2 separate regions of the Homo sapiens genome follow, and region 2 is linked to region 1. The links are contacts of gene promoters, found by promoter capture Hi-C in human tissues and cell types (Jung and others, 2019). All regions are on one chromosome and are shown on one strand. The core of a region is centred on a gene start or on the middle of the fragment in contact, and the rest is flanking DNA. Distances in the headings are between cores, read along the strand shown. Region 1 holds the start of MYH9 (myosin heavy chain 9). Region 2 overlaps RBFOX2 (RNA binding fox-1 homolog 2).

What was found. Contacts are between HindIII fragments. The study calls those that stand out against the background at their distance.
Region 2: a contact is called between a fragment that was not itself captured here and the fragment with the promoter of MYH9 in region 1, in 1 of the 25 tissues and cell types used here (dorsolateral prefrontal cortex).

Annotation. Positions count from the first base shown.
Region 1 is chr22:36,386,148-36,389,287 of GRCh38, reverse strand. It overlaps MYH9 (myosin heavy chain 9), which reads left to right and starts at 1,321. Exons shown (of 41, transcript NM_002473.6): 1 at 1,321-1,481. It overlaps MYH9-DT (MYH9 divergent transcript), which reads right to left and starts at 694. Exons shown (of 3, transcript NR_183573.1): 1 at 553-694. RefSeq lists enhancers at 1,010-1,304, 2,928-2,977, 2,735-3,140 and silencers at 1,098-1,677, 1,708-1,787, 2,068-2,297. The HindIII fragment of the contact is 20,760 bases long and covers 1-3,140 here.
Region 2 is chr22:36,016,186-36,019,109 of GRCh38, reverse strand. The region is part of intron 1 of RBFOX2 (RNA binding fox-1 homolog 2); the gene reads left to right. Among named protein-coding and RNA genes, the nearest start is that of RBFOX2, 11 kb to the left of the region's middle. The HindIII fragment of the contact is 5,046 bases long and covers 1-2,924 here.

The DNA of each region.
Region 1 (3,140 bases), core at 72-2,571:
AAAATGTTGGGATTACAGGCATGAGCCACGCGCCCGGCCGAGGTTTTTCTTATCAACTGGGAAGAGATCTTTATATATTGCTGATAGTAATTTGTCACAGAGTTGCAAAATCTTTTTTTCCCAGCTTTCTTTTGCCTTTAGAACATAGCTTTTTTCTGAAGTTAATTTGGAAGAATAGTCATGATAGCAAGCACATTCCAGTAAGAAAGAGTAATGATGAGAAATTTGCCCTCATAGATATAGAATGTATTATAAAGGTATCTTCATTAAAGCATGGTGGGATTGGCACAGGTGCACACAGAGAGATCAATGTATACAAGTCAGAAACAGCTTCAAGTATAATAGTTCTATAGGCGATGAAGGTGCCAACTAAAATCAGTGGAGAAAACAGTGTTTGGACAAGTGGCTATTACAAAAATTATCTTAGGTTTCTTCCTTACCCCAAAAATAAATTCCAAATGGATCAAAAGATTTTTCATTTAAAAATGAAAACATTTTTTATCCTCTTGTAGTGGACAGTAACAAAAAAAAAGTGCAATTTGTAACAAGTACCTGAAAGGATGTATGCGAGTTAATGACATGGAGGTGAAGAGAGGCTCGGAAGGGTATTCCAGGTGGAGAGAACGGCCAGAGCGAAGGTTTGGAGGCTGAAAGGCAGCAACGTGCGGATCCTAAAGAGGCAGGGTCAGGAATCGAACTCAAGACGCTCACAATGGAATCCAGGGCTGAGTCCATGCCCGCCCCCACAGGGATCATAATTATGTAAAATAGCATTTTTCCCATATATGGTACTTAATATCTGTCCTTGTGGTGGGATGACATGAGACTGAGAGCACAGCTCGCGGGGCGGGGTGTCAGAGTTCCAGACCTTCCCAGTCGGCTCCCGCAGGGCCTCGCCCCGGCCCAGGCAAGGCACCAAAACCCCGGCCCGGAGCTCTCCGCGCCCCGAGTCGCCGCCTCCTGATTGGATTCCCCCTGTGTCAATCCTTGTCCTAGAACCTGGCTGTCCGTTGGACCCGCCCTAGAGGGCGGGGCTCCCGCCTAGGAAGCGCGGGGGAAGGTGGAGCGGGTGGAGGTGGGGCGGAAAGAGGATGTTGAATCCCCACCCATCTGGCCGCAGAGGCTCCGCCCACCCCCTTTCCACAGGCCAATACGTCTGCCCATCAAGGCCAGGCGCGGCCTGCAGTGGGTGTAGCAGGAAGGGGGCGGGATTGTGCCCCAGGCTCCGCCCCGGAGCCGGCTCCCGGCTGGGAATGGTCCCGCGGCTCCGAGGGCGGGGCGGGAAGGCGGCGAGGAGCCGAGCTGGGTGCGGTGAGGCGCGCAGATCACCGCGGTTCCTGGGCAGGGCACGGAAGGCTAAGCAAGGCTGACCTGCTGCAGCTCCCGCCTCGTGCGCTCGCCCCACCCGGCCGCCGCCCGAGCGCTCGAGAAAGTCCTCTCGGGAGAAGCAGCGCCTGTTCCCGGGGCAGATCCAGGTTCAGGTGAGCGAGCCCCACCGCGGTCCCGCCCCGGGCAGGCGGCGGCGGGCGGGCGGGGGCGAGACGCGCTGCCGCCAGGCCGACTGGTGGTTCTTGGGCTCAGTGCGGCCCGCCACCCGCGCGGGCGGGGGCGAACGCCGGCGGCTCAGGGCCCGGCACCGCATCCTTCCCAGGGGGACCGGGACCCCCACGCGGGCGCTCGGGGAGGGCGCCGGCAGCAGCGAGGCCTAGGGGTGCAGGGGCGGCCTCGGGACCCGGCGCTCCCCGGCGCCCCCCGTGTCCCCCGGCGCGGTCTCAGGACTGGGCACTGGAGCCGACCTCCCCCAGCCGCTGGGGCACGCGCCCCGCCCTCGCCTCGCCCAGGCCCGACTCGGGCAAACTTTTTAACCCCTTCCGGGAGCCGCGGCCCCTGGGACGCAGCCTCACGGGTTGGGAGCCCGGGGCAGCCGCTCCCGTGGAAGTTTCTGGCGTCTGAGGCACGGAGGTAACGGGCAGCGGGCACCGTTTGGCAGCTGTCAGGGCGTCCTCCTGAGTCAGAGTCGGACCGTCCCGCTGCAGACCTTGCACCCGGCCCGGTTTCCGCCTCCGCGGCCGACTTCCTCATTCGCCCGCTGCCGTCGGACTGGTCGGGGAGGGCCCGGGGGAGGTGCGGCGGCTGCCCGGACAAGGGGGACCCGGCGGGGACCCGGGCGCGAGACAGGAAGGGCCACCCCCAGTCCCTGCTCCAGCCCTCGACCTCCGACTTCTGATCCTCGGGGGAGGGAGGCCCGGAATGCAGCAGCCGTCGGGGCCGCCCAGGCGTGCACCTGATTCCACCGCACCCAGGGGCCATCCCGTCTGGGCGGGGTGCGGGGGCAGCTAGCTCTGCCGTTACGAGCAGGCCTGGGCGATTGCATCTTTCCTGTTTGAGCCAAATCGGAGTTTTCTATTCTCCACTCCACGCACCCGCTTCCCTGTGCTGGGGTCCTCACCCCATCCTGTTCTGGGGCCACGCACAGGAGACAGGACTGCGGCACCCTCATTCTCCAGGGAAGCCCCGCTGTTTCAAACTGAGACTCAGCACCCCCAGCACTAGCTTGCCGGCTGTCCTGTGGTGGGGGGCAGGGTGAGCGCACGGCCCCACCCAGCCGGTGTGGAGAGAAGACTCCTTGGGAAGTCCCAGGTCGTAGAGGCAGGCGGCTGTCTCCACCGGGCAGTTGAGAGGCCCAGCCACTTCTCGGTTCACTGCGCCCTTTTCTGGGTTTAACAGGATTTCAAAGTGACTGATGAGTAACCGTGGAAAGGGAAGAGAGCCTTAGCTCCTTCTCCGTGCAGCGCAGCACTGTGGCCATTCTAACTACACTGTCTGGGCCAGTGTTTGGCTCACCTGATGGCTTAGGAGTCCCTTTTTGGTAAGGAGGGAGGCCTTTTGAGACAATCACTCAATTAATAATAGTCAGTTTATATACAAGGCTGCTATGTGTGGGGGAAGGGGACACAGATGTGTAATTGAGCAAATATTTAACTGCCCTCTCTGTGCCAGGGACTCTGCCAGGTGGTGGGGGGGTGGGAGGTTGAGTAAGACCTGGCCCGTGCCCATGGGCACTTAGGGGAGAACTGAGACAAATCTGTAGATGAGTCTAACGTGAGGTAGAGATGACAGGGACCCCGGAAAGGTACTGT
Region 2 (2,924 bases), core at 303-2,802, 370 kb after region 1:
ACAGTAAAAATGTCGTGTTTCAAATTTTATAAGTTTTGTTACGTATGTTGGTTCAAAAGTGGCACTTTTTGTTCTCATTTTGTCTATGGAAATTGAGCTGGGATGCCTTTGTGTTGTCTCTTGTGGTCCCTTTTCAGTCTCTTCAAACCCGCTCTCCAGACTGCTAACACAGTGATCTATCTAAAAGAGCCAATCTGGCCAGGTGCGGTGGCTCATGCCTGTAATCCCAGCACTTTGGGAGGCTGAGGCGGGCAGATGACTTGAGGTCAGAAGTTCGAGACCAGCCTGGCCAACATGATGAAACCCTGTTTCTACTAAAAATACAAAAATTAGCTGGGCGTGGTGGCGCATGCCTGTAATCCCAGCTACTTGGGAGGCTGAGGCAGGAGAATTGTTTGAACCCAGGAGGTGGAGGTTGCAATGAGGAGAGATCGAGCCACTGCACTTCAGCCTGGATGACAGAGTGAGACTCTGTCTCAAAAATAAAACAAAAGAGTCAATTTGTTACTCCACGCTTAAAATCTTTTGAGAGCTTGTGTTTTTTCTCAGGATTGTCTGTTCTCTTGTTTGGCCTGACTTCTGCGTAACTTTCAAGCTCCGTCTCTTTCCACATTCCACCTCCAAGTCCATGTCCAGTGGCTTATAGTTTTCTTAGCATGTGGTGCCACCCAGCTAATGAATACCTCTGTGCTTTTGTTCCTTTCCCTTCTACCCAAAGTTCCTGCTTCATCTCTTCTACCCCCACATTTGTAAGGCTCAATCTTTAATAATGAGTTTGGATATTGATTCCTCCTGGATGCCTTTTGTGACTATTCCCATGTCTCCCACACTCCTGCTGTCTTCCAAGACATCATGTCTATAGCTCTGTTAAAGGACTTTTTAGATTAATACTTGATTGAATGTCTGCCCCACCACGCTTACCCAGACTGTGAGATCCTTAGGAATCTGTAGGATTAAGCACCATGCCTGGGCCCAAGTAGTCAAGAAACTGTCCATTTTTGTTAAATTGAACTTTGTCTTCCTGCTTCTCAGTTGGGGCCTGCAGATGGCTTTAATTGTTTATCCAGATTTTCCCTGGGGGGTCTGGCCCTTGGTCTGCTTTCTATCCCCTGTGAAGACTGCATGTTGTGTGATATGTGAATGTTAACCTGATCTTTTCATTGATATCAGGGTTAAAGGTGAGAGAGGGGTCTCTGAAAACAGAAGCTGGGGTAGAATTTAACTGCAGAATGTGTTGGGTAGGCATAGCAACCTGATATTTAGTTTCCTGTGTTCAGATATTAATTGAGTGCACGTGTGTATATGTAAAAAGCTCCTTTGTGATAGTGTGGTTAAGGAGAAAAGAGGAACCACACAAGTGAGAGAGGCAATTAGAGCCAACCTGTTCCAGTTCGCTGGAGCAGGCTGTTGATTTACCTTTTTACAGTGCTGCTGCAGGATTCTGGAGTGTAGCAGTTCGCATGTATTACCACCATTTGGGGTGAGAACTATTTGATCAGCTAGGGACCTTAACCTTTCTCTTCTCAACCAGTGAATTTCATCGGATACTATAGCTTTATTTTTTATTTTTTATTTTTTTTGAGACCGAGTTTTTGCTCTTCTTGCCCAGGCTGGAGTGCCATGGCATGATCTCGGCTCACTGCAACCTCCGCCTCCCGGGTTCAAACAATTCTCCTACCTCAGCCTCCCGAGTAGCTGGGATTTACAGGCACCCACCACCAAGCCTAGCTAATTTTTGTATTTTTAGTAGAGACAGGGTTTCACCATGTTGGCCAGGCTGGTCTCGAACTCCTGACATCATGATCCACCCGCCTCGGCTTGCAAAGTGCTGGGATTACAGGCATGAGCCACGTGCCCGGCACTGTAACATGTTTTTATGGATCTGGGGAAAATACCAAGCGGAGACACTTCACAATACATGGTATTTTTCACATCACTCATATTGGATATGTTTGAAAATAAGGAAGTCTGATAGTGTTCCTTTAAATCTCAGCCTTGGCGATAGATTCATAGAAGTATTTTATAAGAATTCTCTCTGGCTGTTGTTCTCCCCTCCGACTTCACTTTCAGCTTCTGGTTTGGGGTCCTGTATAATCCTTGCCTGTTCCAGCCAGTTTAGTAGGGACCTCTTTAGCTGCAAATGATTGTACTTCATAGTGCCTCTGGCCTTTTCTATTCTAAATGAATAAAGAGAATTCTGAGAAGGGAATGAGAGAGAGCAGCCTGTAATATATCACTTCCTTCTGACATGTCCTGCACTTACGTGGCATCTAGAAATTTCTGCCAAAAATTCAAGGCACAGGACACATGATAAATACCACTTATGAAGTAGATGACATTCTTGAATTGTCAAATGATGGTGATGGAATAACTGCTTAAAAACCTGTTTTCCCAAGGGTGGAAAACAGCCTTTGAGGTTTAGACTTCCACATGGGTGTGTTCAGCCATAAGACGTGGGTTTTCTTAGGGACTTAGGTCCCCAGGTAACACCTTGGTGTGTGGGATTTTTCCCATGTATAGGCTGGTTCCTTGGTTTCTCCGTTGTTGAAGAAGAGAGATTTTGCACTGGGTATTGGATATTTTATTCCAGGCATGTGGTTTTTGAGGAGGCATATTGTTGATGTATTTTTTTTTTCTGGCTGCATTGATTTTTGTCAGATTCTAACTGGAAATACCACAAGCAAAGCATGATTTATCATGAGGGATGGGTGGTGTGGCCGTGGGACTCTCCTAGCTCTGGGGATTGGGGTGGAGGCAGAAGCTATGTGAGTAAAACTAGAGGAACTACAGACAGGGCCTGGGGAGACTGGGGGTGTCTGAATGTGGCCTGCAGCAGTTGCTTGAGTTGGAATACTTTTGGGCAGAGGCTCATAGAAATTTCTTTCAATTGCTTTTTTTTTTCTTTTAAGAAGCTTTTTCCCATA